7 separate regions of the Homo sapiens genome follow, and all the other regions are linked to region 1. The links are contacts of gene promoters, found by promoter capture Hi-C in blood cells and fetal thymus (Javierre and others, 2016). All regions are on one chromosome and are shown on one strand. Each heading gives the region's core, a stretch centred on a gene start or on the middle of the fragment in contact. The rest is flanking DNA. Distances are from core to core; before and after follow the strand shown.

Region 1 (4,219 bases), core at 971-3,470:
CTACAGTCCGGCTGAGCCCCTCCACAGTCCTGGTAACCAAGTAGGGATCATCCCTCTGGGGCTGGGCTTCTGCTGTGGTCTTGCAGGTCCCCACCCTCTCCAGGAGGAAGAACTGCCCTGAATCTGGTCCTGTGGCACTGGCTCTGCTGACAGAGTCAGCTGTCGGGTGGGAGCCCACTCTGGGTGGAGGCAGCAGCCTCTCAGGAGCCCGTCACTGTGGCAAAGTACAAACTCTTTGAAGCAAAGACTCTGTGGATCCAAACCCCAGCTTTCTAGCCGAGGAAATACTGGATCTCTAGACTGCAGTTTGTCTACCTATAAATGGGATATACCCTTGTTTTGAGCATTACACGAGATGATCCACATAAAGCACTTAGCATGGAGCCTGCTCAGGGTAAGCACTCAATAAATGGTAGCTGTTGTCATTACTTAAAGGCCCGCTCTCTTTCCTGGCTCCCCCACCCATCGGTGTTTCTTCCTCTTGGATTTCCCATCATCACCTCTCTACTGGTTGTGTCCCCCAGGGTTCTATGCTTTTTCTTTTTTCTATTTTCTTTTTTTTTTTTTTTTGAGGCAGAGTCTTGCTCTGCCACCCAGGAGGGAATACAGTGGTGCGAGCATGGCTCACTGCAGCCTCGACTCCCTGGGCTCAAGTGATCCTCCTACCTTAGCCTCCTGAGTAGCTGGGACCACAGGCTGCATGCAACTACACCGGGCTAATTTTTTTTTTTCTGTAGAGATAGGGTCTGGCTGTGTTCCCTAGGCTGGTCTCGAACTCTTGATCTCAAGTGATCCTCCCTCCCCAGCCTCCCAAAGTGTTTGGGATTACAGGCGTGAGCCACCACACCTGGCCAGATTTTGTGCTTGACCCCTCCAATCCCCACTACACTAAGTACTTGTTGCCACACATCTGGGTTGCTCTACAGATAGCACATGCAGCAGCCCTCCAGGTGGGCTTCCTCCTCCCTGGACTGCCTCCTCCGTTCTCTCCTCCAAGCCTCCTAGAGTGCTGGCTCCATCTAGGCTGTTGTAAATAATCAGCCTAGCAGTCAGTGCCTACTAGGATGAGCTCCTGACCAAGCACCTGGGCTGAGACCCAGCTGAGACAATCACACCCCACAAAAAAGTACAAGCTCGAAAAAATTCCATGCCACTGCTTAAGGCAGAATGCAGTCAGGGGAAGACAGCACCTCTCTCCAAAACCCTTTAGTAAACTATTTTCCAGCAATAAAACCCACTTTAAATTCAGGCAGAGAGAAGGACCTCAGTACTCATAATTGAGAGAGCACATTTAATCAAGGCAGTAGACAGCTATTTAATTCCACTTTCTTTTGCCTAAATGTCCTTGTCCCCTCTTTTCCATTCACTTGCTCTAAATCAATAGTTCTCAAACCCTCCGTGCTGAGAGATCAATTGTTTATTTTTCTTGTTCCCAAACTACTGTGGGCCAGTACTTTTGTAAAATGGTAAAAATAAATTTCTAAAAAAGAAAAATGCCATTCCGATGGCACAGAAAGTTTTAATTTCTATAAAGTTTATTACTTTCAGTTTCTGTACATATCTTTTGGTAGTCTGGTAAGCAAGCTTCTCGCCGACCTACACCAGCCCCTGGCCCAAACTGAGAGTAGGTAGAACAGCTTCTGGAAGGAACAGAGCCACAGAGGAGTCTGTCTCCCACAGACACTCCCCATCCCAGGTTTTTGTCCTGTCATGTAGTCCGCTCAGCAGCAGCCCTGCTCCACCCAGAGCATGCAGTGGTGAGGTTTGGGGTGGGATTTGCCCAGGCTTTGGTTACTGATATTCCTTGAGAGTCTAGCAGCCCCCAGGAGGAGGGATATGCAGAGATGTTCCCAGCCCCAGTGCAGTGCAGGGACTGGCCCTTACCATTCCATGCCAGCCCTGTTGATCTCCTCCCACCAGCACTCCGTGGGTTCCCCGAGGCTCTGTGGCGTGGGCATGCAGGCGTAGTTCCATTGTCTGTCAGAACCTTCCTTCTTGCTGAAGATGCTCCTCACGGCCACTATCACCTGCCCCTGGGGACACTGGTAGCTGAAGCCTTGCCGGTTCAAATTCACCCACCCATCATCGCTGTAGTCATGATACTGCTGGTATGGGTATCCATAATCGCCATACTGGCCCCAGGCCATGGTGACTAGGGGCAGAAGTACCCAGAGAAGACTGAGGTCCATGCTGCCTGGGATTTTGGCAAACAATGTCACTCTAAGATTGCTGGTCTGACCGTTTTATATAGCTGCCGCTGACATGTGGCTTCCAGATGTGGGTGAGAAGGATCCAACTGCAGTGTGTCATTGCTTAAGCAAAACTTTTCCATGCTGAGATGTCAGCCATAAGGACATTCAGCTTGTTTTAAGGTGGAATTCTAGGAATATACCAGCAGCATGTAAGTCTAAGAAGCTCCCTGGAGAAAGAACAACTTTGTATCTAGATTATAAAAGCCAACTGCTGCTCTACCCTGTAGAAATATTCACTTGAAAAACACTGATTAGTAGCATATTTGTCCCTCACCTTTCAGCACCTCACCCCTTTCTGTCCTACCCTACCCGCTACTAGCAAACCCCTGTATTTGTTCTCCAAACTAGCCTTCCGGGCCACACAAATACCCAGACAGTGATTTCAAAATACCGAAATCATAGACTGAAGTAACAGAGCCATCTAGGATTTCTGTAAGGCTGAATGCCTGTTTTTTTTTTTAAGTTGTCAATCCAACACTTTTTAACCCTTGAGTATAAGCGCGGGTATACCAGTTTGCAGGGCTACTCTGAGAACTCATAAGTTGCATAAGGAAGTACTATGGGCCCATGGGGAGATAAGTTGGATATGATTTCTACACTTAAGCATTCTACCATGCTGCTGAAATTGGACCCAGTCAAGTCTAGAAAGTGTGCTCTGCTCTCAAAATGTAATGGGTTTAATCTAAATAAACCCCCTATTTATCCTTCAGTATTTTTGCCCTCACATTGAATTTTCTTTTCATTGAGTTATAATTTACATATAATTAATTCACCTTTTAAAATACATAATGTACAGTAACATAGCCAGCACCCTAATCAAGACTTAGAACAGTTCCATCAATCCAAAACATCCCCTTATATCCCTTTGCAGTCAAATCTTCCCAAACACCCAGCCATTGGTAACCACTGATTTACTTTCTGTCTCTATGGTTTTGCCTTTTCCAGAATGTCAAGTAAATGGAATCATACCACACGTAGCCTTTCATGTCCATCTTTCACTTAGCATAATGCTTTTAAGGTTCATCCATTTTAAAATTCAACATCTCATTGTATGTGTTAGTATTTTGTTTCTTGTTATTGTTGAGTAATATTCCATAGCATGGATGTACCACAGATTGTTTATACATTTACTAGTTGAAAGACATTTGGGTTGTTTCCAGTTTTTGAAAATTCATTACTTTTTATGTAATGAATTTTATATTCATTATATTTTATATAATGAATTACATAAATGTAATTATAAAGTTGATATAAACATCTATGTATAGGTTTTTGTGTGAACAAATTTTTATTTCATTTGGGTCAATACCTAGGAGTGAGATTGCTGGTTCACAAGGTAATGTATGTTTAACTTTAAAAGAAACTACTGAGGCCGGGTGTGGTGGCTCATGCTTGTAATCCCAGCACTTTAGGAGGCCGAGGCGGGCGGATCACGAGGTCAGGAGATCGAGACCATCCTGGCTAACATGGTGAAACCCCGCCTCTACTAAAAATACAAAAAATTAGCCAGGCTTAGTGGCGGGCGCCTGTAGTCCCAGCTACTCGGGAGGCTGAGACAGGAGAATGGCGTGAACCCGAGAAGCGGAGCTTGCAGTGAGCCGAGATTGTGCCACTGCACTCCAGCCTGGGCTACAGAGCGAGACTCCGTCTCAAAAAAACAAAAAAAAGAAAGCAAGAAACTACCTAGCTGATTTCCAAAGTGGTGATACCATTGCCCACCACTACCAGAAAATTGCCATTAAAAAATTTTAGCTATTCAAATAGGTTTGTAGTGATATTTCAGTGTGGTTGTGATTTTCATTTCTCTAATGATCCATGATTTTGAGCATCTTTTCATGTGCTCATTACCCATTCCATGCATCCGTTGATGATTTGGCTTTTCAAATTTTTTGAAACCTTTGGGCATCTCTTAAGCACATAGTATTTCCCATTTCTCATCAGTATTGTTCTTAAAGTTTCTTAGAATT
Region 2 (4,219 bases), core at 1,172-3,671, 490 kb after region 1:
AAAACACAAAAATAAGAGACTAAGATTTCAGATGACGTGAGATACCACTTTTGAATGCAACTCCATCCTTAAGATAAATGCCCTGGATCTTAAATACAACTTTTTCTCCTATAAGGGTGAAACTTCTTGCTGAAGATCCAGACTTTCCTTAGGGAAACTTGAAGGCAGATGGGAGGAGCTTTAATTTCCTATAAGTAGGAGCTCTTCATTTCTCTGGAACTTTCCTTCTTTGCCAAGCCAAATTTAACTCCTTCTTTAAATTATAGCTCCAGGCATCATTTCCTCAGGGAAGCCTTTTCTGAATAGCCTATTCCCTAGGCCTCAGCCCCACCCCACTCAACACAGACTGGGTTGGGTTCCTTCAGAGTAAAATCAGTCCTCCATATCCATGAGTTAATGCATCTGCAAAGTCAACCAACCACGGATCAAAAATATTTGGAAAAATAAAAAAATTGTACAAAGTTGCAAAAAGCAAAACTTGAATTTGCCATGTGCTAAGTACTACATTGAATCCACACAAATTAAGTGATGTGTAGGCATTGTATTAAGTAGTAATAGTAATCTGGATGTGAATAGGTTCCACGCAAATACTATACCATTTTATATAAGGGACTTAACTATGCGCAGATTTTGGTGTCTGAGGGGGTACTGGAACCAAGCCCCCAAGATACCAGAGGATGGCTGTATTTCCTGAGCATTCTGTACTTCTCACTAAGATAACCTTTATCATATCTTATAATTATTATGACTTGAGATAGGATCTCACTGTGTTGCCCAGGCTAGTCTCGAGCTCCTGAGCTCAAGTGATCCTTACACCTCAGCATCTAAAGTAGCTGGGACTATAGGTATGTGTCACTGTACCCAGCCTACAATACATTATTGCAATTTATTTGTCTGATTCTCCCAGTATACTGAGAGCTTCTTAAGGGTCTCAACTCCTCTTTGAATCCCCAATAAATAAACATGATATCAGGTTCATAGCAAGTGTTTAATAAATGCCTGAATTTATGAATAGATAATGACAGTTGAAATAAATAAATATTTACTCTAAATCTCCTATTCTGAAATGCGTTCCAATATACCTTATATGATGAAGAAGCTACAGAAACTTGATGGAAGGAAGGCTAAGGAGACCTTCCAAGACAGCTTTTTCCTCATTTTTTTATCATTTTGGTTTGCCTCCTTCATGAAAGATTTTCACAAATCATGAGTTTGAACACGGACTTACATTTCAGTTACGCATGTTTTCCCCAACCTCTATACTTTAGCTTTCAACCCATATGTTGTTTTGAGAAGTGGGCCTGTACTTAATACCTCTACCTGTAAATAATTCCAATGAAAGGATAACTTATAAAGCAAATGAAAAGTTAATTAAAAAATAAATCTAATTGACCTTTTGTGGATGTGGGTGGAAGTAGTTTAACTGTACTTCTAAGCTTTTATAACTTAATATAACATCTATTTAAAAATTATAAGTGAATATAAATAAACTTTATTACAGTTCAATTTTAAGAGGTATACAATTAAAAGGTAAATTATTTAGAGTGATTAACCATCCCACTTTTCCTGGGATTGGGGGATTTCTCAGGATGCTGGTCTTTCAGTGTGAAACCTGTGACAGTCCTGGCCAAATTGGGAACGGTGTTGGTCATCCAACTAATATACGACATTGAGATGAGGGTTTTCTTTCTTTTTCTCGGTTAGACAAATGTTTCTTCATTAAACACATGATCATTTTCTCCAGGATTATTTTGTAATCACTGAATCACTTAATAGGTATTACAAGTTATTGCATGCAAATCACTTCAAAGAAAATAAATTACTAACACATAACTTTTTTTATATATACTCACTGTACTTGGATTACTTTCAATTTTCTTATGTTAAAATGCATTTAAACCACTTAATACTTTCCTGAAAATGTATTTTTAAATTATTTTTACATTTGCTAAAGTTAACAAAATGCTTATAAAATAAATTAAGTTGATTACCTAAGAAAAATGTTTCTTTTACTATAAACTAGTAATAGAAATGCTTGGCACATGTTAATCTGTGGATATGCCTGTTATCTCTGGTTAGGTATAAATGCCTTCTCTAAGCGTTGTTATGTACTAAATTGACAGGCAGGAATATGAATTCACCTTCCATTTTCTCATCAATAGAGTGAGATAAAATCATAATAGAGTAGAGAGAACTCTGTTTTATTCCATTTCTACTCCGTAGAACTAAGGATTCTTCCATTTCCCTTTTTCTATTTCATCAATTTAACCTTCATCTACTCATCCACTTAAGATAAAGAGAAAAAAGGTAAACACATGGTAAATAACACCCGACTATTTCTCACCATGTCTATTACCACCATCCTGGTCCAACTCACCATCATCTTGTACCTGGATTATAACTTCCACTCTTGTCTTTAGACTATTCTCAATACACTAGTAACAATGATTCTTTTAAAATCAAATTATGTCACTCTTCTCTCCAAACTCTTCAATAACTTATGGTCCCAGTTAGAGTAAAAGCTAAAGTCATTATGAGGACCTATGAGATCTGCCCTGTCCCTCATCTCTCTGACCTTATCTTCTACCTTGCTCATTACATGGTGTTTCTAGATTACCTCAAGCAAGCTCCTCTCCCAAGGCCTTTGCACTGGCTGTTCCTTCTGCCTAGGATGCTCTTCACTGAGAAATCAGCATGGCTGGCTTTTTCAAGAGCTTTATATGTATATATGTTTACATATATTTATACATATTCAAGTCTTTATATGCATACAAATATATGGAAATATATTTGTATACCTATATACTGTGTGCCAGGTAGTATATGTGCCAGTAGAATATATAAATATATTTATATATATTTATATACACATAAACTTGAACACACATGTGCACACACCCAAATTTTTTTGAGACAGAGTCTCACTCTGTCAGTCAGGCTGGAGTGCAGTGGTGCGATCATGGCTCACTGCAGCCTTAACCTATTACAGGCATGTGCCACCATGCCTGGCAACTTTTGTATTTTTTGTAGAGATGAGGTTTTACCTTGTTGCCCAGTCTGGTCTGTTGTTGTTGTTTGTTTGTTTTATTTTTGTTTGTTTGTTTGTTTTTAAATAGAGACAGGGTCTTGCTATATTGACCAGGCTAGTCTTGAACTCCTGCCCTCAAACAATCCTCCCACCTCAACCTTCCAAAGTGCTGGGATTACAAGCATGAGCCACTGTCCCTAGCTAAATGTTTTCTTAAATATCACTTTCTTAGTGAGCCCTTCTCTGATGACTCCAACTTATAATCAAATCCTATCTACACTTCCTTAACTCAGGTTGCTTCCTTTCTTCATTTTCCATCATATGAAATACTATGTATTCTATTTTTTATTTGTTTATTATCTGTCTCCAACTAGAATGTAAGCTTGGTGCCCTGTGAGGAGATTTTATCTCTCTGTCTCTCTCACTTTCTCATTTGTTTTGTTCACTGGTGTATCCTTGGTGCCTAGAATACTGCCTGGCACACAGTAGGCACTCAAACATTTATGAATGCATGAATGATTGAAGGGCAACTATGAAGTCCTGTAAGTCAGCTTTTCTTAGCTTCCTGGAAACTAAAATTCCAAAGTTGAAATTTTCTTTTAAAATAAAAATAATGAAATCTGTTTAAAAAGTAAAGGAAAAGGAAAAAACCCCAAGGAAATGGTAATATATTGATTCTGAATAGTAATTTGTGTCTCAGTGTGACCAAATTGACCAGACCTGCTTAGAGACTTTGTTCTGTTAAGACAATAGAGGAACCCCGGGCTGAGACCTCAGGACTATGGCGAGGAGAGGAAGGAGCTAAACAATATAATCTATTTCTTTCACATTTTCAGTGGAGCTGGCCTTGACTTCACAGACAATGACATTTTATTTATTTACTTATTTTTGAGTTGTAAAAACTTGACATTTTAAGTTTTATTTTGAAAGAACTGTAAATTTATAGAAAAGTTACTAATAGACTACAGATAATTTGTTTTTGCTATGAATCGTTCAAAAATAAGTTGCTAATCTGATGCTCCACTACCTCCAAATATTTTAGTTTATATTTCTTACCAACAACTACAGCCTCCTATATAACCACAATACAGTCTTCATACTTAGACCCTGGTGAGGTTTCACTAATTATCTCAATAATGTCATTTATGGCCAAAGTATCCTGACTTGGAATCACATGCTGCATTTAGATAT
Region 3 (4,219 bases), core at 837-3,336, 450 kb after region 1:
ATGCTCAGAAACTTCCTCAAAGGAATAAAATAATGAAATAGCTGGGACCCACTCTTGGCACTTCTAACATCCAATTCTTGGCAAATCCTGTCAATACAACTACTAATATATACCCTGTATCAGTCGGCTTCTATATCCACTCTAGCACCATATTCTCCTGCCTAGAATATTGGGCTTTTAGATTTTATACTTGCTGGTCTATCTGGTTTCCTAGATACCTCTACTCCTAGTAAACATATTGTCCAAAAAGCAGTTAGAATAAGCTTTAAAAAAACATAAGTTGAATCATACCACTTTCCTGCCGAAGAATCTCTGATGCTTTCATTAAGAGAAAATGCAAAATTCTTGGGCTGGGTGTGGTGGCTCATCCCTATAACCCCAGCACTTTGGGAGGCTAAGGTGGAAGGATCATTTGAGGCCAGGTGTTCAAGATCATCGTGGCCAACACAGCAAGACCCTGTCTCTTAAAGAAAAACTTCTCAACATAACCTATAGTCCTGCATGCTCTGGCTCCTGCTTAACTCTCCAACCCCACCTGAAATGAACTAGTCACATCAACCCCTTCCAACTTTTCAAACTAGTCACATCAACCCCTTCCAACTTTTCAAAGGCACCAAGCTCTTTCCTACCTCAAGCATGAAAACACACAGTATTTCCCTTGGCTCAGCAATTCTCTTTTTTTGTTTTTTGTTTTTTTTGAGACAGAGTCTAGCTCTGTCGCCCAGGCTGGAGTGCAGTGGCGTGATCGCGGCTCACTGCAAGCTCCGCCTCCCAGGTTCACACCATTCTCCTGCCTCAGCCTCCTGAGCAGCTAGGACTACAGGCGCCCGCCACCACACCCAGCTAATTTTTTTTTGTATTTTTAGTAGAGACGAGGTTTCACCGTGTTAGCCAGGATGGTCTTGATCTCCTAACCTCAGGATCTGCCCGCCTCGGCCTCCCAAAGTGCTGGGATTACAGGCGTGAGCCACCGTGCCCAGCCTCTCCTCTTTCTTAATAATTGCCTTACAAATGGCTTACAATAAGCAACAGAAATCAGATGTGATCGATTCTACAGAGTGACTCTCTCAACTCTTTATTCTATCCTCCTTCTAGATGGAAATTAGAAATCTAAAAACTACATTCCCCAGACACATTTTTGGCTAGAATTCTTGCGATGTGGAAGTCCTAAATGAGATTTGGAAGACAGGACAAAGCAGAAGCTACCTTCTTGCTAATGTTGCTACAGGCAGACAAGGTAGGAGACACAAGTGTTTGAGTTGTGGCAGACTCAATGCCTAAGTCACTGCCATGGTAGTAGCAGTGGAGGCAGCAGCAACTTCAGGATTCTAGGTATGGGAAGGTACTCTTGAAATCAATAGCTCCAGTGGCAACTCCTGACTTAAGGCCCTGCAACACTTAAGAAACTTAAGTTCGTAAATAGCTACTTCCTTGAATCGAACTCCTTTAAAAAACATCCCTAAGCTGGTTTCTGTTTCTTGAGCTGAACTCTCAGTGATATTCTGAGGCTCCATCTTTCTTCCTCATCTCTACAGAAAGCTGTTTTCCCTGTTCCCACTTAGTAAGTACCTTTTTGCTATCTGGTTTTCAGCTTTACTGCTCTATTGAAATTGCTCCCTCCAAAGTCACCTATAATCAATTAGACTTCTAGCTGAAACCTCTTCTTTTTTTTTTTTTTTTTTGAGACAGAGTCTTGCTCTGTCACCCAGGCTGGAGTGCAGTGGCACAATCTCAGCTCACTGCAACCTCCACCTCGTGGGTTGAAACAATTCTCCTGCCTCAGTCTCCTGAGTAGCTGGGATTACAGGCATGTGCCACCACACCCGGCTAATTTTTGTATTTTTAGTAGAGATGGGGTTTCACCATGTTGGCCAAACTGGTCTCAAACTCCTGACTTCAGATAATCTGCCCACCTCGGCCTCCCAAGGTGCTGGGATTACAGGCATGAGCCACCGCACCTGGCCTAAAACCTCTTGTATAGCAGTGAAGTTATAAAAGTACCATCAGAAATAATGGATCTAATACATGTGGCCAAAAAACATATGAAATAAAGCTCAGCATCACTGATCATTAGAGAAATGCAAATCAAAACCACAATGTGATACCATCTCACACCAGTCAGAATGGCTATTATTAAAAAGTCAAAAAACAACAGATGCTGGTGAGGTTGCAGAGAAATAGGAATGCTTTTACACTGTTGGTGGGAATGTAAATTAGTTCAACCATTGTGGAAGACAGTGTGGTGATTCCTCAAAGACCTAGAGGCAGAAATACCGTTTGACCCAGCAATCCCATTACTGGGTATATACTCAAAGGAATATAAACTGTTCTATTATAAAGACATATGCACCTGTATGTTCATTGCAACACTATTCACAATAGCAAAGACATAGAATCAACCTAAATGCCCATCAATTATAGACTGGATAAAGAAAATGTACATATACACCATGGAATACTATGCAGCCATAAAAAGGAACAAGATCATGTCCATTGCAGAAACATGGATGGAGCTGGAGGCCATTATCCTTAGCAAACTAACGCAGGAATAGAAAATCAAATACCCGCATGTTCTCATTTATAAGTGAGAGCTAAATGATGAAAACACAGGGACACATGGAGGGGAGGAGGGGAGCAACACACACTGGGGCCTGTCAGAGGACCAGGGGTGGGAGGAGGGAGAAGATCAGGAAGAATAGCTAGTGGATGCTGGATTTAATTCCTGGGTGGTGGGATGATCTGTGCAGCAAACCACCACGGAACACATTTACCCATGTAACATGAACATTTACCCCTGAACTTAAAATAAAAGTTGGAAAAAAAAAAAAAGGCATGTCAGTCAAAGAAAGAAACAATGGGTCTAACAAACTGATCTTAGTACAGTTATATCCAATTTATAAAATAACATAGAGATTTTATAAAATTTAGGTTTATTTGTCCTAGAGTAGCAACATTAGTCTCAGCAGTTAGTAGAAAGATTTTGGTGCCTTTAAAGGCCTAGCTTCAGCGTTATCTGGCTGAATTAATTAAGATAATGCCCATAAAATGTCTAATGGTGTCTGGCCAAACTGGAGGCATTTAGTAGATATAATCATTGTCTTCATAGTATTATAAATAAACTCATAGCTAACAATGAGGCACTTATATAGTACTTGTGTTTTTAAAAGCATGTACTATTTCACAGGAATCCCACAAATCCCCTTGTCAGCACAATTGCTGACGAGGCAGACAGTTTTTGCCTTTTACAGATATGGGTAACTTGGTTCTACGGACAGTCTCAGACCTCCTATCCAGCAATGAAGAAAGAGTATATCCAAAGATCCAACCACTTGGGGCAAACTCTCTTTAAAGGTTAATTTCCTAAACTGCCGCATGTCTTCTATGATTCCCTTTAAAGTTGCAGTAAGCAGCTAAGATTCCAGACCAAGGTGAGCATTTTTTGAAACCATCTAATCTTCTCCTATAATTACCAATAGCAATGTTGTCAAAAAGAAATGTAATGTGAGCCACCTATGTAATTTAAAATTGTCTAGTGGCCACATTAATAAGAAGTGAAATTAATTTTAACAAAATAATTTATTTAACCCTATATATTCAAAATACTATTTCAGTAGGTAATTAATAAAAATTATTAATGAGCTTTTTTACATTCTTAATTTATGCTAAATTTTCAAGTCCTGGGTGTGTATTTTGTGTATAATACATCTCAGTTAGAACCAGCCATGTTTCAGGTGCTGGAGAGCTATATGTGGCTAATGGCCATCATATTGGACAGTAGAGACCTAGAGAATAGTAGCTCTCTCCCAGGACCGAGGTTTAACTTCTGAGCAACATTCTACATTAAGGGCTGAGCCAAGACTAATAATATCTGCAGTATTAACCTCTCTCATGCTAATGGAAACCTTGAACATAAGCTTGAGGGCAGTCAATCTAACCATATTTCTCATGCTGCCATCCTAGGCTATAATCCTATCTATTTATCTATCTATCTATCTATCTATCTATCTATCTATCATCTATCTACCTACCTATCTATAATTTATCATGTCTGTTGCCCACTTATCCTCCACAGCTGGCATTGCCAATGTTCGTCATTATCCTCAAGGCTCCATCCTCAATTACATGTTTTCTCTCAGCAACTTTGTTTCCTGCTTCACAGAAAAAAAAATTAAGACTGATATCAAGAGATTCAGCTCCCTCAAATTCCTACACACACACA
Region 4 (4,219 bases), core at 568-3,067, 430 kb after region 1:
GCTGCTTCCAACTGTCAGTTAAGTCCTGAAAGCAAAACAATCCCTTTGCTGGCCTTCTCACAGGGTCTAGGCTTTCCTCAAAAGCAGAACCAAAGCCGACTTCGAAGAAGTCTGGTGTATGTCTTCTTTTGAGAAGTGTCTGTTCATGTCCTTTTTGATGGAGGTTTTTTATCTTTTTGGTAAATTTGTTTAAGTTTTGTATAAGTGCTGGATATTAGACCTTTGTGAGATGCACAGTTTGCCCAAATTTTCTCCCATTCGATAGGTTGTCTGTTTACTATGTTGATAGGTTCTTTTACAAGTTTTAAAAAAGTCTGGTGTGCCCCTACTCACTGGGACAGTGGTTTCTAAATGCTAGTTTAACTATCAGCCATATCAGAATATCAGAATCACCTGCAACATAAAATACAGTAGTGCCCCCTTATAAGTGGGGAATATGTTCCAGTTCCCCCAGTGGATGCCTGAAACTGTGGATAGTACCGAACTCTATCTATACTACGTTTTTCCATATGTATGAGAGATAAAGTTTAATTTATAAATTAGGCACAGTAAGAGATTAACAATAAAATAGCATAATTATAACAATATACTGTAATATTTCCTCATACTACTCAGAACGGCATACAATTTAAAACTTTTTATTTTTTAATTTTTGCAACCCTGCTCTTTAAGGTACCATACAATTTAAAACTTATAAATTGTTTATTTCTGGAATTTTCCATTTTATATTTTTGGGCCATGGTTGACCATGGGTAACTGAAGCTGTGGAAAGTGAAACCATGAATAACGGGGCTCTACTCTATAGATATAAGGAGCTCATACCAGACCTCCTTAACCAGAATCTTCTATAATAGGGCTCTAGGCTTACATAGTTAAAAAAAACTCTATAGGTGATTTTAATGCATGCCATTGATTGGGAACCGCTGCACTAGGACGGTAGTTCTCAAATTTCATGGGCATCAGAAGCACCTGGAGGGCTTGTTAAAGCACAGATTCCTGGGTCAAATCCCCGAGTTGCTAAGCAGCTGGCCTACAGTGGACCCCGAGAATTTCATTTCCCCTAAGTTCTCAGGTGATGCAGCTGTTCTGGAGCAGGGGAGGACACATAAGAACCACTGCACTAGGGATTAGCTAGGGCCAGTTCCATTGGAAGCCTGTTTACTAGCTAAATGCCTCTTGACCACCTGGAGAAGATACTGCTTTTTACCTTTCCAACATTCATTCTCCCTTTCTTCCTTCTAACAGTATCTTGATTTTTGCTAGTGGGAGCAATGTTCCCAAGTAACAGAACTACATTTACTCACTTCCTTTCTAAAAAGGGGCGGCCACAGTACTAAATCCCAGCAACAACAAAAATCATAACCTGAAGCTGTTGGGTGAGGGCTCTGGTTTTTGGAAAAGCTTAAAGGTGGGCGAGGGAGGAAGTGTTAGCTCAGCTGGCATTCTTCGCCTTTTGCCCTCACTCTTCTTTCTTTATGCCTGGAAAAAAGAAGTGATAACTCGAGTTCTGACAACCATTCTGTGGCAACAAGGCAAAAAGCACATACTAAAGATGATGACGGTACCAAGGAGGAGGAGACTGGGTGACTGATGGTATTACGGAGTTGCCATACCAGTCCCACATGCCTACCTTCAGATCTCAAATTATGGGGCGGAAAAATAAAAGTTCTCATTTTTAAAGATGATTTTAAGGTCTCTATTTACTAGTGACCAGAAAATTAATTATTAATTTGTCACACCCCAACCCACCAACATGGAGGCCATTATATTCACCTCTTTTCTCCGATCCTGCTATTCTCACATGGCTCTGAGATTCTTCTTCCCTTCCCCAATCTCTAACTATTCCTATTGCTTTCTGCAGAACTTCAGTGCCATTGTAAACTCCCTTGAAACTTGAATCTCTTCATAGGCCTCTTAGCCTTAAATGAAACTTGGATATCCCCTAAGGGCATCAATTCCTTGGAGTCCGCAGGATAAGAATCTCTGGCCAGGAGGGTAGGAGTAGTTCTATCCTTTGTCCCAGTGCTACTTTAAGACCTCCTCCCCTTATATATGAACTCCTGACTTTTTGAGGCTTATGCCATCTGGCTAGATCTTTTCTCCTTGTTGCTGTCACACCTTTGGTTCACAAACTTCCCTAGTTTGTGAAAGACTTCAGAATTTGAGTCACCATTTTCTTCTCCACCCTACCTCCTAACCATGATCCTAGGTGATTTCAATGCCACTCAACATGAAAGCTTCTCTCAGTTCCTAGACTTACATATCTCTAGTGACTGATACTGATCTCCACTCCACACTGGCTACCTCCTTCCATGGCCACACCCTGAATCATATCATCCATTACCATGGAAAGCTCCACTTCTGAAGTGTACAGTGACACAGCTCTTTCCCTGTTATTCCTGGGGTCTCTGTAGGTACCTTAGAAAAGCATTCGGTCCCTTGGCCCATCTACTTTATCCCTTTCTTCAAGCACCTCCTGCCATCACATCTTTCCTTGTTTATAACTTCAACTATAGTTGCTAACATCCTCAATTATCTTTCCTCATCGTACCCTCCTGTAAAAACCTCACCCCTGGGCCAAACTGTTCACCAGAAAATAATAACACCATAATACATGTAATCTCCTAAATCAACTGAATTGTAAATACAACCCATAAATATATATTCTGTCATCAGCACTTTCTCCATGGCCACTTCAAACTTTGTCTACTATCTCTTATTCAAGACTCCTGGTACTAGATGTTTTGGAATTTACAATAATAATCTGGAATATATAGTATATATTATATAATACTCCAAGGGGTCTGGGAAGTCACTCATCATCAAATACATTAATATTTTTACAGCAGTGTGAAGAGTCACACTAAATAGGTTAAATAAAAATGATATACATTAAATGTTTTGTCAAGCTACTGAAACAAAACTGTTTAATGATACACAACTTGATATAAGACAGGTTAGGTTTTACCATTAAACTTATGAAAAAACTTTGGTTTTCAGACATTTTTAGATTATTAGATTTTGGTAACACAGATAAAGATGGTACTATCACGTTTGCTTGGGGATAGGCATTAATCTGGATTCATTCCCACAGGCTACCTTTCACATCCAATTAGTCTCTGAGGCTTTCTGTTCTACCCCACTAAATGTCTTTTGAAGCTCACTGCTTCTGGCTATCCCTTCTGCCATAGCAATTCAGGAAACCAGAATTTTCTCCTGAATTACTTAATAGACTTCTACCTAGTCTCTGTCCCCCTAGACTCCACCCACTTGTTTCCCTGCCTGACCCCAGGGCCCTTTCATCTGTTCTCTATACTGCAGCCAGAGTGACCTCTATAACACAGGTATCATTGTGCTATTCCCCTGAGTAAAACATTTATTTGGATCCCTAATGGCCTCAAGATGAAGTTCAGTTGTCTTAATATGACTTTACGAGGCCCCTGCTGATGTTTCCAGCTTTATCTCTTGCCATTTTCTACCTCCTGGTCAAAGCCCCAGTCTTACTGCACTATTTTTAGATCTCTAAGAGAAAGCTGTTTGCTTTTGTATTTGTACAAGTTGTTCCCTCTTTGACAATGTACTACTAAAAATCACAACTCTTCTTCTTTCAAGATAGAAGCTAAAACTAAAGATAAATTATGAGTGTCAGTATGTGCAGAGGCCTGCGTTAATCACGGCCAAGAAATTGGGGCCTGTCCAATCATCTTAGTCACCATGCACCTATGTTTATTTCTGATTAATCCTTGATTCACTATTTTTTCCCCCAGAGTGTACCAGAATAAGAATCCATGCAGAAGTAATTATGTATCCAAATTCAGATTTGATCAACTACTTATGAAACTGACTTTGCAAAGATTATGACAGTGAGAGGAGTCTAGCATAGCTGACTCCATCTTGCTTCTGGCCTCACAGACTGGCTGTCTTCACTCATTCCTGGGTGTCAGCCAAGCTCACCATGAGAGGAACTTAGTCTATAGTTTAACCTGAAAACAAGAACTAACCCCTTCCTGGCTAGGGAACTGAAAACTGTCTTTGTAAAACTAATGAAAAGCCACAATATTAATATTATGGGAGGGGCCTGAATGCTGCTAAAATGTAGACCTAGGTTCTATAATGCTTTACTGCTCAGGGGTCATGTGGTCCAGAGGTCACAAGATTTGTGATCTCCCCAATTGATCCCATAGGTAACATCACTATCGTAAAACCTAAGATTGGTCTT
Region 5 (4,219 bases), core at 754-3,253, 410 kb after region 1:
AGCCAGAACTGTCAATTCCAGCTTATCAGATGATAGCATACATAATTATTCAAGTCATGAACAGCAGAGGCAGACTAAGAAAACTTTGAAAACTAAGATAGTAAACAGACGTGAGAACCAAATGCAATATGTGATCCCTGACTGGATCCTGAACCAGAAACTATTTTTCTTCTTTTGCCACAGAAGACATTTGTGGGTAAAAAATGAAGGTCTGTACCTTGATAATAGTATCGTATTAATGTTAACTTCTTGATTCGCAATCACTTTCTGTGGTGACTGTAGATAATATCAGTGTTTTTAGGAAATATACACTGAAGTATTGAGAGATAAAGGGGAATTACATCTATAACATACTGTTAAATATTATAAATAATTAAATTCATATGTACAGAAAGACAGAAGAAAGGATGATTAACATGGTAAAATATTAACATTTGGCAAATATAGGTAAAGGGCTTGTGGAAAGTATTTTTTTAAACTTTTCTATAAGTCTGAAATTATTTCAAAATGGAATGATAAAAATATTAATCAGTAGAAAGAACAGAAAGAGTACTAGATTTGGAGTTGGAAGAATTGAGTTTTATTCTAGCCACTATTTCCTAGTGCTCTTAGGCAAATCATTTAGACTCTCTGAGCCTGTCTCCTAATCTAAAAATTGAAGATAATAAAACCTACCTCATTGGATTTAGTGGGCATGTAAGTTTCTGGGTGAATTTATAAAGTTGTAGCACATTATACAAATAATACTTTTTTAAAAAGGACATATGGCCCCATGTTCCCACTCTGAAACTAGTAGCCCAGGATGGGCTCTGCTACAAATCAGCTACAGTAAAGCTTCAGGGATGGGTTTTCTCAGTTATGAATGCCAAGCAAGCAGAGGGGAAAAACTCAGGTGACCTTGACACTTCCTCTTAGAAATTCATTTTGTGGCTCCCAGAGAAGAAAAGATTTTGACAGGGAACAGTCTATCCTTAAAAAAAAAAAAAAAAGATTTCAAATAAAAGAAATTGTAGATATAAAGACCAGTTCTCAAGATTGGTGATTTTCAACTTGGTTGTACATCACAATCACCCTATGGATCTTTAAAGAACCAAAAAGTAGATGCTTACACCCCCACCCTGGAGAGTCTGATTCATTAGGTCTTGGGTAGGTCCTAGACGTCCACATTTTCAAAGAGCTTCACAGACACTTCTGATGTCCACTGGGGTTGAAAGCCACTGCCCTAGTATTGTTTATAAGGACTAAATAAGATCCTTTATACATAGTGCTCAATAAACATTAACCCTAATCTCATCTTTTCCTTTCTCTGTGCCTCAGAGGAATGACAAACTGAAATTAGAAATGCAGATCTTGTTGACAAATGATTTACAATAAAGTTTCTGGATGAAGAAAAAAAAAGAAAACTACTGTCCTAGATAGTTAGTCAAAGTAGGTGCCTCCGAAATCAGAGCCCAAACCAAGCCCATCTGATATCATTATATGTGATCTGGGGAAAGAATAAAACCCCTCACTTAATTTGGCATTTACTAGTATCCACAGTACCTTGGAGGCACTTAACATGGATAATGTGCCAAGGAGACAGGTAGGCCTCAAAAGATGAAGTGGGGAATATGGGCAGAAAAGCAGAGTAAACTTCAACAGGATTACCTTGGGTATTGATAAGGAAATAAAGCAGGCTTACAAGATGAGTTTTATAAACAATAAACAGTGATTCGGGAAAAGGATCTTGGAGTATGTCCTCGTCATTCCCTGAATACTTGGGCCAAGACTGCTGTCTACGAGGCCATCAATGCTGATATGCTGAGTGTCCTCATAAAGGATGTTGTCAATTAAACCCAAGGAATTACAGTACTCTTTACAAGAAAAACAAACCACAGAATATTTTATTTCTTGGGAAGTTCCTATTGCTATACTTCATACACATTTCAGTTAGAAAAGCTCCAAGACAAAAATAATAGAGTTAGAAAATAGAAATAAAAATTTTTTAGAAGATGGAATGCCTTTTTTTTTATAAGGACAGATGAGAAAAGTGAAAAAGCTCTTAGATTGGATAAAAGCTGAGAGAATACATAATCAGAATTCATGAGATAATGAAGTGAATAGCTGGGATGGACTTTGTCACTTAAAATTGGAAAGAAATTGTGAAAGCATATGCTGAGGTAATTTAAGATTTAAGAGAAAATTACTTCATATATTGCTTCATTTAATTTTTACTGTGAAATGTCATTATTTCTACTCTTCAAGTAGATAAAATGAGTCTGAGAAAGGTAATTTTTCCTAAGTCATGAAGTTGGTAGGAGGAGAAGCTGGGGATTTGAACTCAGACCACCTGACTCCAGAGTCTGTGCCCAGAATCACTATACTCCTGGACCTCCCTTATACTTTAGATTTTCCAGAAGGCTAAGGAAAGCCTATATGGCATAGTAAGATTCAAGTTCAACTTTAAACTTTTGATTTACCTTTGAACTCAAGTTCAAATCAAGTAAAAGTCATTAAGAGCTCAGCTAACATCTTTCTATTCATCACTTCTGTATGCTCACAGCCTTTGGGCTGATTTTGAAATAGAAATGCTAGTCTTGCAATATTTTCAGCTAAGCCAGAATAAGATAAGATGTGTTGTTTTCCTAGGAATTAATTTCTCCATTTCTAGTCTTCAAGTTTTAGTAAAACGATGCTTGATGACTTACAGCAATAAATTCTTAACTGGTAATCAAAAAAGAATAAACTGTACTTCTGTTCATAAATAGAGGAAAGAAAAAGAAGCACCTGCAATTTGATAATTATAATAATTCATTATACTGCTTACAAAGGATACAGAGACAGTATGGCAAACTAGAAAAACCCAGGATTACTAGTTAGGAGAGTAATGTTCTATACACTAAGCCATGCAATTTTAGGTGAGCCATTTTCCTTCTTTGGGCAACACATTCCTCAATGGTAAAACCAAGGTGTCGGATTAGAATTTGATTTCCTCAAAACCTAGAATCATGGAATGTTAGTGCAGGAAAGGGGTTTAGAGGAGGGCCTCTCAATCTTTGTCACCTCATGGTGCACCTAGAAAATGCTCATTCTCGCATGGCATCCTGGAGCCGGCACAGGAAGTGGTTAAGGATTGGAGCTGCTGCCTCCAGGTCTCAGAGGATCAATTATTCAGCTCATTTGTAGGGGAGTCCAAGCTTTGAGAATTACAAGTTCAGCCTCATCATTTTCCACATGGAGAAACTAATGCCTAGACACATTTTATGAATTTATAACAACCCATAAATTAAAGTACATGGTATCAATGTATTTTCAGTTGTTATACTATTATTTAACAAATCTATCCCAACCTGACCCCCTTCAGTCCATTTTCCACATGGTAACTGGAGAGACCTCTTAAAAACTATAAACCTGATTATGTCAACGCCCATTCCCCTCAAGGGTTGCCTCCTGATGTTTTGAGGATAAAGATCCATATTCTTAAAATAGCCCACAAAGCCCTGCATGGCCCAATCTCTATTTCTCCAGTGTCACCTCAGGCTTTTTTTTTTTTTTTTTTGCATTTTATATTTCTTCTTTCCTTTTCTAAAACACACCAACCAATTCCCCGCATAAGGGCTTTAGCAAGTGCTATTTTCTCGGCCTGGAGTCAACTACCTTTTTCCTCAGCTGACACTCATTTCAGGCCTCAGTTCAAATGCCATTTGCTAAAGGAAACCTTTCTTAATCCCCCATCTACACCAGGTTCCCCGATTACAACTCATCCTGTCTTTCACTACACAGCAATAATCAGAATTTATACTTGTCCATTTCCTTTTGTGATTATCTGATTAATGTCTGCCTTCCTCATTAGACTATGAGCCCTGAATGGAATGTGTGTCTGAATAGGAGCTCTTGTTCATTACTGTCTCCTCAGTGCTTACCAATTTCTGGTGTATAGGAAAAGTTCAGTGAAATGTTCAATGAATGAATTTACGGTTTAGTTTTGGCTACAGAAGTCTTCCTGGCAACTTCCATTCATTGCACTGACAGCTCTGTACATCACATTTCTTGTAATATGAAACATGGATATGGTTATGCCTTACTTCACTCTAATTAGTGAACAGTATGGGCATTTACTTAAACTTTTCACTGCAAATATTCTCAACAATTTTTTTTTATTGTGGACAACTTTGAGATCTAATAAGCTACGGACCATTTCCCCCCCAGAATGAATACATCCACAACATTTTGCAAACAA
Region 6 (4,219 bases), core at 1,199-3,698, 390 kb after region 1:
TGGTGGGGGAAAAAAAAAAGCTGGATTTGTGAAGCTTCATTTAAGGATTTTTTGCTGCATTCACCCAAGGGTCATAGAAAGTGGGGTGGAAAGAGCAGTAGCCTGACAGGTCCACTTCTACCATAAAATCTGATGGGGTTATTGGACTGGTTGCTCTTAACTGTTGGTCAGTGCTCTCATGCTAGTAATCTGATGACCAGCTGGTCTGTCGGATGCAGTCAAGACTAGTGAGAAGCTGGGGAGATGAAGGGAACAGGGATGTATCATCCAGCTTTTTCCCACATACATGCATGAGTAGATCTTATCAAATGTCATGTAGAATGCAGTGTCTTGTTTCAGGATATTACTTAACAAATGTTATGTTTTATATCTAGATAAGTCAAATATACTATATGTACTTGCTCTTCAGTTTGGCCTTGAGCATAATTAATGTAAAATACTAGGATTTATCTATTTGTTTATGTTATTCTTTTATAAAAGTGGCACCTTTCCTTTATTGTATTGAGAATAAGCACAATTATGAGCTATACAAAATACCAAGGATTTGCCCCTATGGAATATGCATTTTTAAAGATAGGTCAACTGAACTAAATAACTCCCTGCTTGCCTGAAAGTGAATATACAGCCACAGGAAGAAGAGGACGGATCAGAGAAGAGCCTAAATCAGAGTTCACGGCATTTAGCTTAGACAGGAGGAATGATTTCTTTACCCTGAGTGTTGGTAAACATCCAGATTGGCTGTAGAGACAGTCCGGGGATTCAGTTTTCTAAGACTTTGTAAAGGGAGCAGATTCTGAGTGTCGGAGGGTGTGAATGTGACCCTGCCTGCAGGCAGGGAGATTTATTCCTTGCTAATCTCAGAGCCTGAGTCTGGGAGCTGGAGGCAGAAGGTGAGTCAAAGGTGGCTAGTTTCCAGAAAGTGCAAAGGCGCCTTTTTTCTGTGCCTCTCCCCTTACTTTGCTAGGTAAGTTGATACCAACTCACAGATGTAAAACAAAAATAAACAAACAAAATCCAGAAATATCTTAGGTCCTACAGAGTGGCACTTAAAGGAGAAATTTCTATCTCATATATGTGCGTATGCATACATATGTGTGTGTTTATGTGTACATATACGTGTGAGTATGTATGAATTCATACCTCTGTGTATTTTTTTTAAAATTGGAAATTACTTTTCAACTCGGAATGTATAGGAGACACATGATTTGTGCATGGCTACATTTAAAAGCATTTCTTTGCTTCCTGTGCCCTTCTCAGTCATATGGGTACCTTCCTGGAGGTTTCCATGGGAAATGATTCCTATTTAGAGATTTGATCTAGTGATTTATCAGATGTATTAAATGACAGGTGCAAGCAGCTGTGCATTTGAATAACTTACAAGGTTGAAATGGCTACATTCTAGTTTAAATACTTTAAACTCACATGTAGATTGAGAAATGATGAACTTGCTACATTATAAACCTAAAGAAACAAAATCCTTTCCCTCAAGCCTTTTCCCCCTTGTGCTATCAACACTTACTAAAGCTAAACATGGAGGATCTTCCTTATTTCTCAAGAGATGGGGACCAAAGGCAGGTAAATGTGTCTTTGAAAAGCAAGTGGGAAGCCAGAAGTTTTTTCTAAATCTAAATCTTATGTAAAGTTGAAATACTCATTGAAAACCAAATATTAAAATTTTACATACCCAGATTATGATTTCTGCCTCTTCAAGTGGCTTTGTTAATTAATGATATATAGCTTAAGGCAAATGATCCTATCAGAACAAAGCTGTCTCTAGAGCTCAGGGTGGTTAATGTAAATTCAAGTTTAGAAGACTGGAGAGGGAAAAGGTTAGATTTGTTTCCTGGAATATAACTTGAAATTGCGTGCCAGCGATTGGGTGTTCTGCTGTCTTTGGCCCTCTGGGAGTTACCAGTGCAAACAGAGCTCATCCTTGTCCAGAGTCATAACTAACAACTTTAAGAAGTGGGCAGTAGAAAGAGGGGCATGATGGGAGAAAGCGTCTGGTCTAGTGTGAAATATGACTCATGAGAACTCCAGTCAGCAAGGTGGGATTTGTGCAGCCCTTGGAGAATGTCATGGTTGGAGAATTTGGGTGTGGCCTCAAAATGCAGATGCTCTTCGATTTAGGATGGGGTTATGTTCTAGTAACCCATTGTAAGTCGAAAATACTGTGAGTCAAAAATGCATTTACTAACCCTGCTAAACCCACTGTGAAGCTGAAAAATCATAAGGCAAACATTGTAAGTTGGGAACTGTCTGTAATAATTACCAAATCCAATCCCATTGCTTTCTATCTCTTCTTAACAGTCTGATAATCCTAAAGTAAATGATTTAAAGGATTTGGACATCCTTTCAAAGGTCTTTCATCTTTCTCTTGTGAGTATCTAGTTGCTTTAGAGAAATAACTTGAGAAGAGGAATTTTTCTAATCTTTGGAGAAGACCTCATCAAAAACTGTCCTAATTAAGACTATCCAGAACAGAACAGACCCGGGGGCTGATCTGTGGTAATTTCCAGGAGAAGTTCTCAGGCCATCAGGCTTCGGATAAAGAAAAGAGAGGAGGCAGAGATAGTGGGTGATGGAGTGAGAGACCTTGTGGAAATGTGAGGAAAGAGAGCAGAAGAGCTACTAAGGAGGCAGCGGCCACTTGACTGTGGCGTGGCCTCCTGGACATTTGTTTATGTAGTAAGCATGTGTGAGCTGATTGCATGACCTAAACCCAGACCATCTGTTTTTTTACTGGAAATGACGTTTGGATCAAAAGCTCTGTATCTTAAATGAATGGTCATTAAGGCTTATGTTAGTTACCACCGTCTAAGACCCCTCAGACTCCAGAGGGAAACATGAGCTCACAAAACAGTAAGACATGACTGAGCTTTCTGGGGTTTATCTGTCATTCCTCGGCTCCTTCTACCAAGGTTCTCTGTTACTTAAAATGGAAAGGACAGGGCAGAGGCTTTGGCCTAGGGTCTAATCCAGCTGGGCAAGTCACAGGGTTCTAAGACTCCGTGCTTAGCTGTCTTATGTTTCACCCCTTGCTTTCTTGGTTTCACTAGTTTCTGATGCTTCTGTAAGAGCAAAGTCAAGATTCTTCAAGCAGCCTGCATCTATGTTTCCCTCACAAAGTAATTATAAACTTGACTGGCTTAGATCATGAGCTATGCTTACTGAAAAATTTGGGCTTTCAGGTTGAAAGGGATGTGATTCCATTACTTGGTTTTCATTATTTCTTATTTGCCCCGTCTAGAGAGACATGAGGCCAATTGTGTATATAACTCTCTTCTGGGCCAGTAGTACCACTTCATGTAACAGTAATACCTATTATTTTCACAAATGTGATCTTAGATATTTTTTTTCTTTCTCTTTTTCTTTTCTTTTCTTTTTTTTTTTTTTTGAGACAGAGTCTCGCTCTGTTGCCCAGGCTGGAGTGCAGTGGTGCTGTCTCAGCTCACTGCAACCTCTGCCTCTTGGGCTCAAGCGATTCTCGTGCCTCAGCCTCCCAAGTAGCTGGGATTACAGGCATGTGCTACTATGCCTGGCTAATTTTGTGTTTTTAGTAGAGATGGGGTTTCACCATGTTGGCCAGGCTGGTCTCGAACTCCTGGCCTCAAGTGATCCACCCAACTCATCCTCCCAAAGTTCTGGGATTACAGGCATTAGCCACCATTCCCGGCCATATTCCTAGATGATTAACAACAGAGGCACTTACAAGAAAGATTTGTCATAGTCTATCAGTAAACATGAACTTAGTTTTGGTCATAGCCCCTAGGCTCCTGGGGAATGCACTAGCCTTATCATTTTGTTAGTAAAGAGCCCAGAGGACTGAGTGAGAGTTGCTGATGTTTTGAGTCTGACACATGTCCCCTGGTCACTTTTAATAGTGGAAACCGTGGACTTGACATTGTGAAGGAATGAAAAGCGCTCAGCATAATACCTCCTCCTGTTCTTACTCTCCTTTTTTTTGTGTGGGAGAATCTGAGAAATGGCATCACTATTCCTCATACTCATATCAAAGTAATGGAACCTTGAGCAGCCACTGGAAGAGAGAATGCAAGCAGCCAGAAAGTGAGAGGCAAACCACTGGAGAGGCTCACTGAAGCCAGGCCAGGGAGAACAAGGATGTTTGTGACACTTGCTTCGCAATCCAGGTTTTACCATGTTTACTCTCAACATGACCTTCTAGGGTCACTCCTCCTTTCAGCTTGTTAGGTGAGAC
Region 7 (4,219 bases), core at 1,075-3,574, 360 kb after region 1:
TCACCAGGAAGACCATCTTCTGGGCAAAACTAACTTCATTTACCTGTGATGGCAAATGCCTTCCCTTAGGTAGGTTATGTGTTTCCTAACACCAGGAAGATTGAGAATTAAGTATGGAAAGATTTGAGAGACCCAAACCATAGTATTGATAATTTTGTATTAAAGAATAAAATTGTGTATAGTTGCTATTTTGTGTATTTGCAATTTTTAATAGAATCAGACCTATTAGAATGATAGCCTTGTAAGGCCCATTTAAAATACAATTGAGTAATTGATGTGAAATTTTATGGTTTTGAGTTCTTAAGTTTACTGGAACATACAAGAGAACCTTAGGATCCTATATTTATACATTTAAGAGCTTAAATGTATATGAGTATTAAAGTCCTCCAAAAAGTTTAGTTTGTTAATACAGACAAATGCATATAGGAAAAGAAAGAGATGGCGATTATAACTAATAATCATAGCTTAAACTATTTGAAAGTAATTAACTTTATTCATAGGCCCTTTAGAAGTGATTGCTAAACTCTGCTAGACTAAAAAATAAAATAGTAACAAACCTGTACATGTACCCCTGAACTTAAAAGTTGGGAAAAATATAAAATAAAATAATTACACATATAAGTTGAACCCAAATAAACTATGTTTTTAATCCTAACTTTAATAATCAGAATATTAATTTTTAATTCAGAAGTAAACCTTTAAATGCTGTTTCCAACAAACCTCCAAAAGCCAGTTTCAGTGACATCCAGAAACTCCTATCAAAATAAGCAATTGCCATAGTGTGTGATAAGTGCTGTAATGAGGGAAAGATAAAATACTATATAGGAAGAAGTGGGAGAGATGGAATTTCAGAGTGTCTAAGAGGGACCTTAAGGAGGAGGACTGGGAAGGCCAAGAAAAAGGTGTGAAGATTAAGGGAGGGAGGGAACAGCCAAAAGGAGTTCATTCCTTTACAAATTCTGAGTATGCACCAGGCACAAAACCAGGGGTTGGGGCTCCTTCCTGCTTGGAGCTCAAGGCCAGGAGGTAAGAGGGAGCTTGGCATCTTGAAGGAAGAGAAAGAACTTCAGTCTGAGTGCAGCCCACCCTGAGAGGGTCAGAGGAAGAGCCCACTCACTCCCCCTGGGTGGGTGAGCCTCCAGGCGCTGGTGGATGTAGGTCAACTACTAAGATGGTGCAGAAACCAGAAGGCCCTCCAACAACTGCTCCTCCTCCTTCAGGAAGTTCTTTGCTTAATTTATTTTTGCTTTGGGGGTCAGAAGCCTATTTGTAAAGCATTTAAACTTTGCTGGGACTCAGCTACTCAAACTATCAGCCCTTCAGTCCAGCATCCCTGAAGCCTAAACAGGCAAGAAGCTCATCTTTGGCTTCAGCCTGAGGTCATGGGCTGCAGGAACCGGTGGGATCTGTTTATCAAGACCACTGAAGACCTGCGGGAGGAAGGATCTTATCTCAGTGTTGCCATGGGGACTGCTGGCTGGATTGACTGAATGCTCTGCAGAAAATGACTCTTTTTTAGAAGAGAAAATAGTTGCTATTTTCCAAAGGCTAAATGTGGAGTGAGGTGGCAGTGAGGGGGAAAACAGAAGGCCTGTGAGGGTAAGAAGTGGGGACCAAGGCCAACTCTGGCTAAAGAAGAATGGGGACAGGCTGCTCCAGGACTCAAGAGCTTGAGATTCATGCTAACCCACTCCAAGAGTTCAGGCCTCCACCAGAGGACATGGCTCTATTCATACAAGAATTTTATACAGAAAATAGTAGATCTGAGATTTACAAAACTCATTTTCAATTTCATAGGCTACAGCCTTCAGATAACTCCAAGTCACATCACATGTCTAATAGTTGTCTCAGAAAGAAGTACCCAAAAGGCATTTCCTCCAAAGGTCCTTCAGAAACTGTGAAATGGGCTCTATTTGAAGAAAACCATTTCCATCAATGTGCGCAGAGCCTCAGTATGAGTGTGCAGCACAGCTGAGCCTGTCATCCCTCGGAACACAGTCTGGGATTGCCTGGTGGCTGTCTGGCTATAAGGACTTTGGACATTATCCCCAACTCCCCATGGAAGAATTTTCCCTGTGTTTCCCACCAACAATACTGAGCCAAACTGCTTTTGATGTCCCCGGAGTTATCTGATCACCTAGATGACACTGAACAGAGCAAGATGACTAGGAGACAGCAGCTCAGCCCTGACATCTGCTCAAGGCCAGCAGCAAAAGTTCCAGGAGTTATATGAGCCACTAGGTCCATCCAATCTACCATCTGTCACTGGCTTACCTTGCCACCTTGGGTCACTGACTTCCCCACTCTGTGCCATCTGTGAAATGTGCATAATAGCACACCAAGTCCTTCTGTACCTCCTCCTTCTTCTCCTGTTCTCTCTCCCTCCCTGCTTCCCTCTCTCCCTTCCTCCTCCCTCCCTCTCTCCCTTTCTTTCTCTCTCTCTACCTCTCTTCCTATCCCCCTCTCTCTCCTTCTCTCTTTTTCCTATAGAAGAGAGATGATGTGTTTGTAAAGTGCTTTGAGCTCCTTGGAGATAGAGAGTCTATAAATATAAGCTGTTATCACTGTTACCATGGAAACACACACAGACAACTGTGCTCTGTTTCTGCATTTGCTGAGCATAATTCTGGCCTTCTTGCCCTGCTGGCTGTTAAACAATCAATGGTTTTACAAAGCTCAACAGCCAGGTAATAGGTGGAGCCTCAAGGCTGAACTTATTTGCTATTCAACTCTTCTTCATGTGAATTTTCAAAAACTGTGTTTCTGTTTGCTAAGGTAGAGGATCGTATAAGATTGGCCAGAGCCAGCTGTTAAACCAGGGATGCAAATAATGACAGGCATAGGTATGCCACCCAACCCAGGACCCTGATCTGTAACAAGGGAGAATTCCAATGAGCTGCAAAAATAATATTCTACCCATTTCCTAAATTTACTCCAACTCCTAACTCCTCAACTTTACAACCAGAGCTGGCAAAATGTTGGAATAAAGAGAGTTATGAGTTTGCACCCTTCTGCCAATTTGTGACCATCTGAAAAGCAGGGGCTATATCTTTTTCATTATTGTCTCCACAGGGCCTAGCACAGTGCCTGCACATAGCAGATGCTGCGCAGAGGCCTGTGGAAAAAAAAAATGAATAAGCGAGTTATAAATGGCTGTTGTTTTCTATTACACAGGTAAAAGTGTTGTTGAGTGAGGTATGCCGTCAAATGTTGGCTTGGGCCTCGGGATCTCAGAGGACATCAGTTTTGGCATGGCCAATCTGCTTCCTTCACCCTACCATCATAGTGAGAACAACGATATCACTTCACTTCTAGTTTAATGGGTGGTCCTGGGAAAGTTGCTCTGTATCTGAAAGCCCCATATAGAATGACGTAACCTAGTTGTTAACCAGACAACTGAAAGATCCAGTGCAAAAAGTGAAAGTGTGAAAACCATAGGAAAAGTCCTTTTTCCTCTCAGGCAATGCTGTGATCTCAGGGGTAAGTTTTCCAGGCCTCAGTTAGGAATGCAGTGAAATGGGAATGGGCTTTGGACTCAGACACATCAGAACTCAGTGTGTGAGCTCTGCCACTTACTGACCTTCCTGAGCCTCCCTTCTCCCATTTGTAAAATCAGAATAATAGCACTCTCTCACAGGTTTGAGGTGGCAGTTAAACAAAATTAGTATATAAACCCATAGCTCAGTGGCTGGCACCAGTCAATGATTTATGCATGATCATTCCATTCCATTAGTTTGCCAGTATGTATGAATATCCATTTATTTTGAATACTTCACTTACTAGTTTATTCTAAAGGCCTGGCAGATGTTTCAGGTCCCACTAAGATGAGTGTATGTGATGTCTCTGCCTTTGGAAAGCCGGATTGGAGGATGTGAAAGGGAGAGAGAAAATGCTCAAACACAGACAGGGAGTCGGGACCTGCTACATAATTTGCAGAGTCCAGTGCAAAATGAAAATGCAGGGCACTTGCCAGAAAATTTATTAAGAATTTCAAAAAGGTGACAACTGAGCATTAATCCAAGCAGGGGGTTCCACTAAGCTAAGGACGCCGTGTAACTGCATAGATTGCACACCGATGAAGTCAGCCCTAAAGCCAGGGCAGAGGTAAACTGGTTTCCAGGCTTGGTACAGACGATATACTGATGAAGTAAGTACAGTGAGTGATGCAGTTTCATGGTGTTACCCAAATGCTGTTTTTGTCATCAGGTAGCTCTAATAT

What was found. The method cuts DNA at HindIII sites, captures the fragments that hold promoters and counts their contacts. A CHiCAGO score of 5 or more calls a contact.
Region 2: a contact is called between a fragment that was not itself captured here and the fragment with the promoter of DPT in region 1, in 1 of 17 cell types (naive CD8 T cells). The highest score is 5.6, in naive CD8 T cells.
Region 3: a fragment that was not itself captured here is called in contact with the fragment with the promoter of DPT in region 1 in 1 of 17 cell types (M2 macrophages); the score reaches 5.3 in M2 macrophages.
Region 4: a fragment that was not itself captured here is called in contact with the fragment with the promoter of DPT in region 1 in 1 of 17 cell types (M2 macrophages); the score reaches 5.0 in M2 macrophages.
Region 5: a fragment that was not itself captured here is called in contact with the fragment with the promoter of DPT in region 1 in 1 of 17 cell types (M2 macrophages); the score reaches 6.2 in M2 macrophages.
Region 6: a fragment that was not itself captured here is called in contact with the fragment with the promoter of DPT in region 1 in 3 of 17 cell types (M2 macrophages, M0 macrophages and M1 macrophages); the score reaches 9.6 in M2 macrophages.
Region 7: the fragment with the promoter of LINC00970 here is called in contact with the fragment with the promoter of DPT in region 1 in 1 of 17 cell types (M2 macrophages); the score reaches 6.7 in M2 macrophages.

The regions. Positions count from the first base shown.
Region 1 is chr1:168,726,986-168,731,204 of GRCh38, forward strand. DPT (dermatopontin) reads right to left here and starts at 2,221. Exons shown (of 4, transcript NM_001937.5): 1 at 1,885-2,221. The coding sequence starts at 2,189. The HindIII fragment of the contact is 3,243 bases long and covers 1,583-4,219 here.
Region 2 is chr1:169,218,833-169,223,051 of GRCh38, forward strand. The region is part of intron 10 of NME7 (NME/NM23 family member 7); the gene reads right to left. Among named protein-coding and RNA genes, the nearest start is that of ATP1B1, 110 kb to the left of the region's middle. The HindIII fragment of the contact is 1,974 bases long and covers 1,435-3,408 here.
Region 3 is chr1:169,177,157-169,181,375 of GRCh38, forward strand. All of the region lies in intron 10 of NME7 (NME/NM23 family member 7), which reads right to left. Among named protein-coding and RNA genes, the nearest start is that of ATP1B1, 73 kb to the left of the region's middle. The HindIII fragment of the contact is 3,651 bases long and covers 262-3,912 here.
Region 4 is chr1:169,157,736-169,161,954 of GRCh38, forward strand. The region is part of intron 11 of NME7 (NME/NM23 family member 7); the gene reads right to left. Among named protein-coding and RNA genes, the nearest start is that of ATP1B1, 53 kb to the left of the region's middle. RefSeq lists an enhancer at 4,050-4,219. The HindIII fragment of the contact is 836 bases long and covers 1,400-2,235 here.
Region 5 is chr1:169,139,754-169,143,972 of GRCh38, forward strand. All of the region lies in intron 11 of NME7 (NME/NM23 family member 7), which reads right to left. Among named protein-coding and RNA genes, the nearest start is that of ATP1B1, 35 kb to the left of the region's middle. The HindIII fragment of the contact is 2,342 bases long and covers 833-3,174 here.
Region 6 is chr1:169,117,569-169,121,787 of GRCh38, forward strand. All of the region lies in intron 2 of ATP1B1 (ATPase Na+/K+ transporting subunit beta 1), which reads left to right. Among named protein-coding and RNA genes, the nearest start is that of ATP1B1, 13 kb to the left of the region's middle. The HindIII fragment of the contact is 4,833 bases long and covers 33-4,219 here.
Region 7 is chr1:169,084,681-169,088,899 of GRCh38, forward strand. LINC00970 (long intergenic non-protein coding RNA 970) reads right to left here and starts at 2,325. Exons shown (of 5, transcript NR_104091.1): 1 at 2,275-2,325. The HindIII fragment of the contact is 14,978 bases long and covers 1-4,219 here.